2 separate regions of the Homo sapiens genome follow, and region 2 is linked to region 1. Evidence: promoter capture Hi-C in human tissues and cell types (Jung and others, 2019). All regions are on one chromosome and are shown on one strand. Each heading gives the region's core, a stretch centred on a gene start or on the middle of the fragment in contact. The rest is flanking DNA. Distances are from core to core; before and after follow the strand shown.

Region 1 (6,972 bases), core at 3,106-5,605:
CAGGGGTCTGTCCCAGGTGGAGCTTGGATCTGAGGAAAGGGGATGGAGAATCACCTTCGGCAAGTCACTTTTCCTCTCTAAATTTCAGTTTGCTCATCCCTCGTTTATTGCCTACCATATTATCAATAATATAAATAGTTGGCCTTATAATTTTTACTTCGAATTTTTTTGAAAAACCTCAAATTTACAAAGAATTTGTAAGAATAGTACCATGAATACACACATATTCTTCACCTAGATTCACCAATTGTTAAAATTCCATCACTGCTGTTTAATTCTTTTTATCTTTCTCTGCTAACACAGACACATATTTTTGCTGAACCTTCTGAGAGTACTTGCTGACATTCTGACACTTAAACCTCGAATACCTAAGTATTATCTATAAACAAGGATGGTTCTCTACATAACCCCAGTACGATGATCACATTCAGGAAATTAAACATTAAGGCAATGCTATTATGAAATATAGGCTATACTCAAATTTCCCCCAGTTTCTCAGTAATCTGCTTTGTATTATTTTTTTCAATCAATAATAACACATTAAATTCTGTCATCATGTCTCTATTTTCTCCTTTAATCTAGAATGGTTTTCCAGGCTTTTCCCTTTTTAATCTTTTGTGATGTTAACATTTTTGAAGAATCTAGGCCAGTTATTTTGCAGAATATGGATTTGTCTGATTATTTCTTCATGCTTAGATTCAGTTAAAACAATTTTGGCAATAACTACACAAAGTTGTTGTGTCCTTCTCAGTGTATTGTATCTGGAGGTACCCTATGTCAGAACACTCCATCACAGTAATCTTCAGTTGGGATCACTTGGTTAAAGCAGTATCTGCTAGATTTATCAATTATCTTTTCCCTATTGTAATTATCAAGTAATCTGTGGGGTGGTATATGTGAATATATCTTTTCTCACCAAGATTCTTTTACCCAGCATTTTTTTTACAACCATTTGAATTTTCTTGCTATGACAGAATTAGTTTCATAAGAGCATAATTAAGGAATCTGGTAAGACGTCTTTGAAAGTTCTAATTACAACCCTCATCTCTTCTTATGTTAAACTGTCTTCATTCATTTACCTACCTATTTAACAAATGTTTAAAGAATGCTCGTTTTGTGGCTTGGCCTGTGACATTTTCATCAGTGGCTTCATAGTTGCCTAAACTAATGTCTCTTCCTGTGCTCCAGAATCCTATTGGCAACTATTTTCCATGGATGCCATAAACTCAACATACTCAGATGAAAGCTGTCATTTCACTTTCTCACCTGCTCTTCCTGTTATTTATTCCAGTAAATTGCACCTCTGTCTTCTCATTGACCCTATAATAAGAAAGGCCTATTTATTGAGTGGCTATCTGTTACAATAGGCCTTTTATACATGTTACATGCATTATCTCATTTAATCTTTTCAATAATCTTGAGAATTAGATGCCATTATCTGGAGGACATTGGGCTTTGAGCCCCAGGTCAACAGTAAGCAAGTCCCCATGCTAGGATACAAATCCAGTTATCTTGGGCTTCAAAATCTTTGCTTTAGCATAGTGATAAAGGTATCACTGGCTTCAAATCCTGGCTCTGCCACTTCCTACGGGTGATTGGGTAAGTCACCTTAACTTTCAATGCCTTGATTTCCTTCTTTATAAAATGGGAAAAATGGTAACTCTTGTCTTGTAGGGTTGTTATGGACTTGAAAGAAACAAAACTTGCTGGGCGCGGTGGCTCACGCCTGTAATCCCAGCGCTTTGGGAGGCCGAGGCGGGTAGATCACCTGAGGTCAGGAATTTGAGACTAGCCTGGTCAACATGGCGAAACCCCATCTCTACTAAAATAATACAAAAAATTAGCTGGGCGTGGTGGTGGGTGCCTGCAATCCCAGCTACTTGGGAGGCTGAGGCAGGAGAATCACTTGAACCCAGGAGGCAGAGGTTGCAGTGAGCCGAGATCGCGCCACTGCACTCCAACCTGGGAAACAAGAGTGAAACTCTGTCTCAAAAAAATAAAAAAGAAAAGAAAGAAAACTTGACATTTGAATAATTTCTGCAGCACCACAGTACTTCTCAAACCATAATTCTGGTGTCATTCATTCTAAACTTCTCCTTCCACTCACTGATTGTGGACTAGTCCCATAGGGACCTCGTCTTCACAGCTGTCATTACCTTAGTTTAGACCAGGGGTTGGCAAACCATGGCCCACAGGCCAAATCCAGACTTCACCTATTTTCGTAAATGAAGTTTTATTGGAATGCACACACACCCATTTGTTTACATATAATATATGGCTTCTTTCATTCTAAAATGACAGAGTTGAGTAGTGGCAACAGAGACCCCACCGTTTGCAAATCATAACATATTTACTATTTTGCCCCCTTCAGAAAGCTTTCCAAATCCTGGTGCCTGGCGTATTCCAATAGTCTTCTTCCCAGTCTTCCTGGTTACATTTCTCCCTGAACCCATCCTCCCCATCCCTAAAATTTCCCCCAAATGTGAACTCAGTCATACCAGTTTGCTCCTTATGTTTCATTGGCCCTTGCTGCTAAGAGCATCCGCTTGCACCTTCTGCTCATCCCCAGACAAGCTTTGTCCTGTGACCATAATGAACTCTTCATGCCGTTTCCAACTTTAGCCCATGTTATTCTTCTTGTCTGAATATCCACCCTTTTCTCTGTTCTCAATAATAAGTTCAGGCTTTTCGTCTTCTGAGAAGCCCTTTCTGACTTCCACAGGCTGAACCACTGGCTTCTGCTCCTCTACATAATACTTCAATTCCAGCATTGATCTCACTCTATCATGATCATGGGTTTAGCTGTCTGTCCCTGCCACTGCTGTGTGTTCCTCTTGAGGGCAGGAACATTTGTTTTTCACTTTTTAAAAAACCTCTGTTGCCCAGTCTGGCATTAGGAAGTGCCCATTAGGTTGTTATTGCTTGTTGGCGCTTGAGCTGGGGCTTGAAGGTTTCTATAATGTGTAGCAGTGTATAGAAAACAGGCAGGTCAGAAAAGGCTTCTGTGCATCACACCAACATGGCACATGTATACATATGTAACAAATCTGCATGTTGTGCACATGTACCCTAAAACTTAAAGTATAATAATAATAAAATTTTAAAAAAAAAAAGAAGAGGCTTCCTGGAGGAGATGACAGCTGAGCTAAGTCCTGGAGGATGAGAAGGAGTATAAAATAAGATAATAGGAGAAAAAAGGCAGTAGGAACAGCATGGGTAAAGGTGATGAGGCCTGAAAGAGGCACGTGGAAGGAAAGACAAATGCAGGAAGGGGGAATGGGAGGGAATGCTGGGGTACAGGCCAAAGAGGGAGGCATTTGGTGAGTATTCTGCAGAGTCTCCTCTGCTGTGCTGAGGTGTGGACAATGGGAAACCATGGACGGACTGGAGTAGGCAAATGTCATATTCCCTGTTACAACTGTCTGTTTGCATGTCAGCCTTCTAGAAGCCCCTTAAGGTATCAACTATGTTTTTGTTTTGTCATCATTCAATCCTAAGTGCACAGAATTCCGGGCATATTACAGGTTCCCCATGAATGTTTCTTTCTTTATTAAAATGTATGAAAACTCTCCAGATTTAAGGAAGGTCCTCAATGTTTCAAATTCTTTTTGTTAGATCATTGGTCCTGTCTACAGCTGTCACAAATTTAAGGACTCTGGTTATATTTAATCTTCACTTTTGAATTTTCTGCTTGAAAAATTTGTATTAGAAAAAAAAGTCTATCCTTTTATGGACGGCTCTAATCTCTTGAATCATTTGGGTTGGCTTTTCTTTGGACCTTCTTCAACTCTGTTTTGTCTCTGTTGAGTTAAGGCTTTTAAGAACACCTGAATTCTTTCCTTCTGCAAAACCAGAGGCAGCTTCTTTTCCGCCTATTTTCAGTTTATTTCTTGTGATTTTAGTTTTTTTCTCTTAACCAAATGCTAAATGGATTTAGGAGAAATAAACTTATTTGTAAAGCTGTCAAGGGACCATTAGAAGGATGGTGCTTCACAGATAGAATACAGTTTTTATTAATGATGCCTAGACAAATCCTGCCATTAGCCCAAGGGCTCAGAAAGTTAGCAGCCTAGTAGTTTTGGAGTTGTCAATGAAATGAATTGGACTGGATGGTTAAGGATGCCCAGAAGATTGAATAAAATTGGGATTTAGGAGGACCCTTGTACTCCAGGAAATTCTCCAAGTCTCCACTTAGTTATCCAGATCCTCAAAGTGAACATGAAGCTTCAGTTTCAAATTGAATACATTTTCCATCCATGGATTGGCTTGTTTTGTTCAGTTGAGTGCTTGAGGTTGTCTTTTCGACGTAACAGCTAAACCCACGGCTTCCTTTCTCGTAAAACCAAAACAAAAAGGCTTTCTATTCAAGTGCCTTCTGTGTGTGCACATGTGTAATACATATCTGGGATCAAAGCTATCTATATAAAGTCCTTGATTCTGTGTGGGTTCAAACACATTTCAAAGCTTCAGGATCCTGAAAGGTTTTGCTCTACTTCCTGAAGACCTGAACACCGCTCCCATAAAGCCATGGCTTGCCTTGGATTTCAGCGGCACAAGGCTCAGCTGAACCTGGCTACCAGGACCTGGCCCTGCACTCTCCTGTTTTTTCTTCTCTTCATCCCTGTCTTCTGCAAAGGTGAGTGAGACTTTTGGAGCATGAAGATGGAGGAGGTGTTTCTCCTACCTGGGTTTCATTTGTTTCAGCAGTCAAAGGCAGTGATTTATAGCAAAGCCAGAAGTTAAAGGTAAAACTCCAATCTGGCTTGGCTGGCTCTGTATTCCAGGGCCAGCAGGGAGCAGTTGGGCGGCAGCAAATAAGGCAAAGAGATAGCTCAGAACAGAGCGCCAGGTATTTAGTAGGGGCTTCATGAATGCATGTGAGTTGGTTTAGTAGAGAGACACAGGCAATTTCAGACCCTTCTATGAGACTGGAAGTGATTTAAGAGGGAAAGGATAGCCATAGTCCTGAATACATTTGAGCTGGGTTTCAGGATGAGCTCACAAGTTCCTTTAAAAAAAATTGACTTAAGCAAATCCTGGGAAGAGTTTTTTTGCTATACAATTCAAGGTTTTAAGGTCCTCGGATTCATATACTTTATAAATGAATTAGCCAGCTTGTTTAAAATGTAGGGAAATTGTGGGAAGAATGCCTTCTTTACTTAATTCAAGGTTTTAAGGTTCTCTTAATCAATTCTACTAGCTAATTAGCCAATTATTTAAAAATAAAAGTTTGAAATTGCCAAAAAAAAAAGACAAGGAAAAGGAAAGAAAGAAAGCCACCAGTCTGTTTGGCATACAATACTTAATTGTTGCCTGACCTACGTGTGGGTTTCAGATGCAGATCCTCAGTTTTCAGCTCTTCAGAGACTGACACCAGGTTTGTTACACGGCTTAAAATGATGAGTATATCCATTGAATCTCAACCTTATCTCTCTCTAGACCTTCTTGGTTAAGAAACCATGTAGTTTGTATGAAGTAGGTACTCAAAAGATATTTGATGATTTAATTTTTACTGGAGAAGAAATATTCATATATGTTTTCTTATTTTTACATGTTTTAAATATGTAAAGATTAAATAAACACTCTTAGAAGTATTTAAATTTCCTAAAGTAAATTTATCTCAACCAGTAACAGGACCCTCCCAATACTGGAAAGTTGAGTGTGACCGCATTTAGTGGTGATGAGTGTGAGCTTGCTTGGGGAGAGGGCAGGACATTTAGGATTTCTTAAGCTTAGAGTCAATACAATAAAGATTATTGAGTGCTCACTTGGGTGGGCTATAATCACTGCTCACAGGAGTTCATGAACCACAAGTAAAAGAGTGAGGAGATATGATTAGCTCACAAATAACTTTAATACAGAGCAGAAAGTAATGAACTACTGCAATGGAGTTATCACAGTGCTAAGGATGCTCAGAGGGCATCTCTGATAGGCAGAGGTGAGGGTTAGGGAAGGAAGCTGTAGTCTAGCTAGCTAGAGCTGCTGGAATAGACATGACAATGGCTGCTGCCAAACTGTTTTCTCTTCTGAGGACAGATGTCCCGTGCAAGTGGCTTGGTGGAAGGGACTAGTGTCTCTAATATAGGGTGATTTATAAGCAGGAAAGTGTGTCCTAGAAATTCAGACCAGAGTGATAGATTGGAATTGGATCATGGGGGACTCATTGAATGTTATTTATTGTATTTGTTTTTGCGATCAGTGTTAGTAAAGTGTCAAAGGGATTGAGCAGATGAGTGACATCATGCAACACAAGTTTTGAGTTTCACTTGTCAGACTGACTGGAGAGGGGCCTGGTTAGTTACAGGAAGGTAATTTGGCATGCAGCCACTATTTTTGAGTTGATGCAAGCCTCTCTGTATGGAGAGCTGGTCTCCTTTATCCTGTGGGAAAAGAGAACAAAGGAGCATGGGAGTGTTCAAGGGAAGGAGAAATAAAGGGCAGAGAGGCAGCGGTGGTGTCAGGGGAAGCCCACAGGAGTTAACAGCAGGGTTGCCTCAACCTAGAGAGGAAGCGACCTGGTGCCCTCGGCTCTGTGGCTTCCTTCATCTAACAACATCTTCCACTCTACAACAATGCCAGGGAAGGCGGAGGCTGGTACAGTGCATCAAGACACAGCTACTCCTGGGTGACAGAGGTTCAGGGCCAGCTCACTAAGTAGGCAGAAGTTTTTGACATATACTTTGAGAGATAAAGCAAGATTCTGTACCTCAACCTTCAGAATTTCCCCTACCACTCATTATAGTTCCGGAGCTATATAGCTCCTATCATTCTATCATAACCTTAGAATACCAGAGAACATATCATCTCATCTAATTATCTCTTACTATATGTGAAAAAAATGAAGGACATGGGGGAAGTGTGACTTGCCCCAAATCACATATTTCATGGTAGAGCCAGGTCTTCTGTTTGTCATATCAGTGTTCTTCCTGCCACAACCATCTTGAAGAATCTATTTCTCAGTAAGAAAATATC
Region 2 (6,926 bases), core at 3,034-5,533, 450 kb before region 1:
TGATAACTTACCCTTGAATACAGTGTAAAGCTCAGCTGTATTGTACTGATCTCTGGGTTTTTTTATTCTTATTTTTTATTGTTTATTTTTTTTTTGCTGTTGTTGTTTTTGAGATGCGGTCTTGCCCTATGGCCCAGGCTGGAGTGGCGTGATCTCGACTCACTGCAACCTCCACCTCCCCGGTTCCAGCGATTCTTGTGCCTTGGCCTCCTGAGTAGCTGGGATTACGGGCGCCCACGACCATGTGCGACTAATTTTTGTATTTTTAGTAGAGGCAGGGTTTCACCATGTTGCCCAGGCTGGTCTTGAACTTCTGACCTCAGGTGATCCGCCTGCTTCGGCCTCCCAAAGTGCTGGGATTACAGGCGCGAGCCACCGCTCCTGGCCATACTGATCTCTTTGGAAAGAGGATTTGTGTTAATATAAACAGGTTCCAGAGGCTCAGTTAATAATTATTTTGTCTAAACTTTATTCAGTGTCCATTAGCATTAATCCAAGGGCAAGAGAGGGAGAACGTCATACTTGGAGCTCTAGAACGTTATAGTTGGTGGGAAGACTTATCTTGCTCATTGATTTTTTGAAGGAATATTACATTTATTTTCAAGTCTAGGTTTATATTCCATGAACCCAGAAGCTTGGATAGGAAATACTGAACTTTGCATAACATATAGTTTTGTTGTCAGCCTGATACGTTCTTAGTTTCAGATACACCACCTCCACCGCCACCTGTGGAAGAACCAGTCTTTGATGAGTCTCCCCCACCTCCTCCTCCTCCAGAAGATTACGAAGAGGAGGAAGCTGCTGTGGTTGAGTATAGTGATCCTTATGCTGAAGAGGACCCACCGTGGGCTCCACGTTCTTACTTGGAAAAGGGTAAGTTTCAGAAGGATATCTGGATAGATGGGAAGAAACCTCTACATAGAAATGAAATTTGCGGTACTGAAGAGAATCTTATTTTCTACTAAGTGAAGTTCTATTTATTTGTATTTGTGCATTTTTACTGAGTTTACAAGGTTCATGATTTTGAAAGTTACACTAGTAAAATTCTGTGAATATTTGATTTTAAAAAACTGATGGTTATCTATATTGTTCCTATTGGACATGCTTTTTATGAATGGTTTCTATCAGTGTTTTTCTGTTTTCCTTTGGCCTCAGGAAGATTATTTTTCCACATTATTATTCCTACCTCCATGCTTTAGAACATTAGTTTGTGTCACCTTATAATCAGATACTTCAGTTTAAATGTCTCCACATGAAACTTTCTTCCACAGAATAATGGTTTCTCAGTTTCTTTGCCAAGTAATATTGGGCATTTCTTTTAGTGAAAAGCTTCTTTGATATTAGCTAATTATGATGTAGCACTTTGGGATACAAGCTTTCAAATCCATCAAGACTAATCAGCTCAGAAAAAAATGTGTGCTGTCTGGAAGGAAATTTTCTTTTAAGAAAATCAAAGCTACTAACCCACTGAGTCTCAAAGCTGGCTACACATTAGAATCACTTGGAGAGCTTTTATAAAGAAATAATAGGCTTCCACTTTTGGCCAAGAGAGAGCAACAGTAATCAGGTGTACCCTCCCTCCTAAAACAGGAATTTTAAAACCCCACAAAATAATGGTTTTCAGACATTGAACAACAGGCACTGGAGAGAAGGAAATTAATTTTTTTCTTTATGTAGCTACTATAAATACCACATGTGATCAAGAAAGTAAAGGAGAACATGAACATGAGAGAGACGTGGAATATATCTTTAAAAAGAGAGAGAGAGAGAAAGAGAAACATAATATTTCTGGAGACGAAAAACACATGCTGCAGAAGAAAGCATTAGCAACCTTGATGCCATGACAATAGAAACTATCCAAAATAAGGCACAGAGAAGAAAGTGGAAAAAAAGGCAAAAAGGAAAACAGAGCAACAGATAATGTGAGACAAGGTCAGATAGTCTTTATGTATGTGTAATTGGAGTCCCCAGGAGATGTGAGAGGAAAAAGAGTTGAAACAATCATAGACAAAATATTTCCACGTTTGATGAAAACTATATTAGTTGTGTATTGCTACCTAACAAGTTATTCCAAAAATTTAGTGGCTTAAACAAAACATCCATTATCTCCCAGTTTCTCTGCGTGGCTCAGCTGGGCCCTCTGGTTCAGGGACTCTTCACACGGCTGCAATCAAGGTATCAGCTGAGGCTGCAGTGATCTCAGGGCTTGACTGAGGGAGACTGCTTTCAGGCTCACTCGTGGTTATTGGCAGGATTTAGTTCCTTGTGGGTTGTTGGCCTGACGGCCTCGGCTTCTTCATTGGCTGTTGGCCAGAGGCTGCCCACAATTCTGGATCACATAGGCTTCTCCGTAGGGCAGCTCACAACATGGCAGCTAACTTCATTAGAATGAACAAGCAAGAAGCGCCAAAAAGAGAATGCAAGCAAGACACTAGTCCTTTTTTCACCTTAACCCAGCAGCGATGACCTGTCATTTTTGCCATTTTCTGTTCATTAAAGCAAGTTAATAGGATTAGTCAACACTGAAGGGGTAGGGATTACATAAAGGCATGAATACTATGAGGCAGAAATCATTGGGAGCTGTTTTAGAAGTTGTCTCCCACAAAACTATAAACTCACAGATCCAAGAAGTTCAATAAACCCCAAATAGAAGAAAAGAAAATCTTGCCAAGGCACATCATAATCAATTTGCTAAAAACCAGTACCTTAGAAAATCTTAAAGATAATCAGAGGAAAAATGACATATTACATACAGAGGAACAAAGATAAGAATGACTGCATGGTTCTCATCAAAAAGCTGTTAAGTCAGAGAATTGAGCAAAATCTTCAAAGTAATGAAGGAAAATGTCAACCCAGTGTTCTTTACTTAGCAAAAATATCCTTCCTAAATTAAAGATCTTTTTTTTTTTTTTTTTTTTGAGACGGAGTTTCGCTCTTGTTGCCCAGGCTGGAGTGCAATGGCGTGATCTCAGCTCACAGCAACCTCCACCTCCCGGGTTCACGCCATTCTTCTGCCTCAGCCTCCCGAGTAGCTGGGACTACCGGCGCCCACCACCGCGCCCCGCTAATTTTTTTGTATTTTTAGTAGAGACGTGGTTTCACGGTGGTCTTGATCTCCTGACCTCATGATCCGCCCGCCTAGGCCTCCTAAAGTGCTGGGATTACAGGCGTGAGCCACGAGGCAGAGTCTCGCTCTGTCGCCCAGGCTGGAGTGCAGTGGTGTGATCCTGGCTCACTGCAAGCTCCGACTACCGGGTTCACGCCATTCTCCTGCCTCAACCTGCTGAGTAGCTGGGACTACAGGCGCCTGCCACCATGCCTGGGTAATTTTTTGTATTTTTTTTTTTTTTGGTAGAGACGGGGTTTCACCGTGTTAGCCAGGATGGTCTCGATCTCCTGACCTCGTGATCTGCCCACCTCTGCCTCCCAAAGTGCTGGGATTACAGGCGTGAGCCACTGCGCCCAGCCTGTGCTTTGTATTTTATGTGGTTTGCCTTGTTTAATATAAGAATGCTTTGGGCTGTAATCCCAGCACTTTGGGAGGCTGAGGCGGGCCGAACACCTGAGGTTGGGAGTTGGAGACCAGCCTGACCAACATGGAGAAACCCCGTCTCTACTAAAAGTACAAAATTAGCTGGGCATGGTGATGCATGCCTGTAATCCCAACTACTCGGGAGGCTGAGGCAGGAGAATCACTTGAACTCCAGAGGCGGAGGTTGGGGAGAGCTGAGATCGCCCCATTGCACTCCAGCCTGGGCAACAAGAGCGAAACTCCATCTCCAAGAAAAACATGCTTTGAAATGTTAGCTCTATTGTAATTCCCATTATATAGTTGAATAAAAAGAAGCCTAGGAAAGTTAAGTATGTACTGTAAACTATTAATAGTTAAGTGTTAGAATTGGGATTTGACTGGGTGGTATAACTCTAGACCCCACACTCTTAACCATTGTCCTAAACGTGAGCTCTGGCATCTGGCAGACCTAGGATTGAGTCTTGGCTTTACAGTTTATGAGCATTAAGTCCTCCCTGGAAAACTTTTTTACTGCCCGTTTTGTATCTCTTAACTTTTGTAAAGCCATCTATTCTTTTGTTCTTCTGGCTCAGTGATACAGCTTTTAGCTAGAAGTATAAATGATATATAGGAATTGTCAGATAACATTTCTGTCTTCACAAGACTGTGACAGTCCCTTTTTTTTTTTTTTTGAGACGGAGTCTTGCTCTGTTGCCCAGGCTGGAGTGCAGTGGCACGGTCTTGGCTCACTGCAAGCTCTGCCTCCCAGGTTCACGCCATTCTCCTGCCTCAGCCTCCTGAGTAGGTGGGACTACAGGCACCTGCCAGCACACCCGGCTAATTTTTTGTATTTTTAGTAGAGACAGGGTTTCACCATGTTAGCCAGGATGGTCTCAATCTCCTGACCTTGTGATCCGCCCACCTCGGCCTCCCAAAGTGCTGGGATTACAGGTGTGAGCCACCACGCCCAGCCGACAGTCCCTTATCTGGTTCATCTTCGTACCTCTAAAAGTCAGCATGGATGCTCTATTAATGATTGTTAAAAAATGAATAGTGCCATTAATTCTTTCTGGGGAATTCCTAGAAAGCTTCTCAGAGAACATGGCGTTCTTGGTGCCTTGAATGATGAATAGGAGTTTCTCAGGCAGAGAAGAGAGAAAGGAAGGGCCTTCCAAGCTGAGGGAATCACGTGAGTGAGAGGGCATGGCTGTTTGGGGCAGAGCAGTGTCCAGTGCATGAGGGTGGGGGTGGGTTGTAGGGAGAGAGGGTGATATGAGCACGCAAAGGGAATAAATTGTAATTAGGTGGTGGGTGGCTAAAAATGACAATGCGAAGGTGTTGGATTAAAAAAAAAATCTGGTAGTAGAGGGAAATTATGGAGGATTTTTAAAAAGGTTAATGATAATATCCATCTACTTATGTAACTTTTTTTGGAGATACCTGATAATAGTGTAGAGTGCATTGGAGAGGAAAAGTAGGAGTTGTAAAGACCATTTTGGATAAACTTTGAAGCAAGGGATAATGGCCTCAACCAAGGTAGTGGTGCTGAAAAGATTGTTTACATAAATAAGCAGATACAAATAGAAGGATTTTTCAAGTGGCATTGTAACTGCACTTTTCAAAGTTATTTGCCAAAAATCAAATAACGTATCTTCAAAAATCATGTTTGATGATGTATCATCAAGGTCTTTCTTAAATTTTGTTGAAAGCAAAGGAATAAGAGCCACCTGATTTGCAAACGGATTGAGTTACTCAGTGGAGTAATTCTTTTAATATGAGCACCATTATTTTGAATGGTCCCTTTGGCACCCAGTGTTTTGTACTTTAAGACAGTGCACCACTGTGCTTTTTTTAAGTAGAAGGACAAAAAGGATATAAAAACTTTTATGACTGCTTGACTGAAGGTATGATCTCAAGCAGATCAATTTTAGGAAGCAGTACTTAAGATTAGAAAATCTAGAAAGAGGCCAGGCATGGTGGCTCACGCCTGTAATCCCAGCACTTTGGGAGGCCAAGGCCGGCAGATGACAAGGTCAAGAGATCAAGACCATCCAGCCAACATGGTGAAACCCCACCTCTACTACAAGTTCAAAAATTAGCTGGGTGTGGTGGTGCACGCCTGTAGTCCCAGCAACTCAGGAGGCTGAGGCAGGAGAATCACTTGAACCCAGGAGGTGGAGCTTGCAGTGAGCCAAGATCACTCGCCACCGCACTCCAGCCTGGCAACAGAGTGAGACTCTGTCTCAAAAAAAAAAAAAAAAAAAATCTAGAAAGAGAGCCAGTTGCATGTAGTGGCTCACACCTGTAATCCCTTAAAGTGCTGTAAAGCACTTTAAGAGGCTGAGGCCGGCGGATTGCTTGAGACGAGGAGTTCAAGACCAGCCTGGGCAACATGGCGATACCCTCGTCTCTACAAAAAATTAGAAAACTTAGCCAGACATGGTGGTGCATGCCTGTAGTTCCAGCTACTCTGGAGGCTGAGGTGGGAGCATCACCTGAGCCCAGGAGTTTGAAGGCTGCAGTGAGCTGCGATTGCACCACTGCCTGGGGACAGTAAGACTCTGTCTCAATAAAAAGAAAAAAAATATCGAGAGTCCCTATAAACTGTCTGCCACCCACACTGCTTAGAAAATCTCAGGTACCCTGAGTGATAAATGTAATCAATTTTAAAGATGGGTGCACTAACTGGGGCGGTGACTATGATGATGGAGAGAAGTCGAGTGTTGGTATTTGGGAGATTTAGAAGGTGGAATTAACAGGACTTGGGGATGTCGGGGAAGGTGAGTGAGGGGAAGGCAAAGATGACTCCTAGTTTCCTGGCTCCACAGAAGCGTAGTAATCAGATAACTGGGAGAAGACACTGTCATGGAAGCCATGGAGGAAAATGTCAAGAAGCAGGCAGAGGTAATCATCATTGCCAAACACTACAGGAACATTAGACAAAGAACTGAGAAGAGGCTCAAAAGTAGAAGGCCAGTTTTTTTCAAGTGAATAGTTTCATTGGAGTGGTAGGGGCAGAAGGAATATGGCTGTATTAGTTAAGCAGCATTATTTTCATTGAAACAGCATCTCCAGTGGGTTCTAAAACATTTCTTAGAATACATTAAGTGGTTTAACCAACTCTTCATTGATAGTGTCCAGGTTAACTTTGCTCTACCTCAGGACAGGTTATAACATAAATTCCAAAGTATGTTAAATGTTTTGCTGGCTTAGGATGAACTTTTTTCCATATAAATAAAATGATGTCAACTCACAATATGTAATTTAATACAAACAGTATATTGAAATGGATAATCTTACTAGCATTTTGATTTTTCCAGTGGCTTGCTAGTTTAGGGTACTTAATTGTTAGGTGTGGTTGCTAATACCCTACAATATTTGGTGGTCAGTCTTTTTAGTTCAGATCAGTCACTTC

The links. Contacts are between HindIII fragments. The study calls those that stand out against the background at their distance.
Region 2: a fragment that was not itself captured here is called in contact with the fragment with the promoter of CTLA4 in region 1 in 1 of the 25 tissues and cell types used here (mesenchymal stem cells).

What each region holds. Positions count from the first base shown.
Region 1 is chr2:203,863,416-203,870,387 of GRCh38, forward strand. It overlaps CTLA4 (cytotoxic T-lymphocyte associated protein 4), which reads left to right and starts at 4,356. Exons shown (of 4, transcript NM_005214.5): 1 at 4,356-4,636. The coding sequence starts at 4,528. The HindIII fragment of the contact is 1,698 bases long and covers 3,400-5,097 here.
Region 2 is chr2:203,416,209-203,423,134 of GRCh38, forward strand. It overlaps ABI2 (abl interactor 2), which reads left to right. Exons shown (of 12, transcript NM_001375670.1): 11 at 700-873. Among named protein-coding and RNA genes, the nearest start is that of ABI2, 91 kb to the left of the region's middle. The HindIII fragment of the contact is 6,605 bases long and covers 982-6,926 here.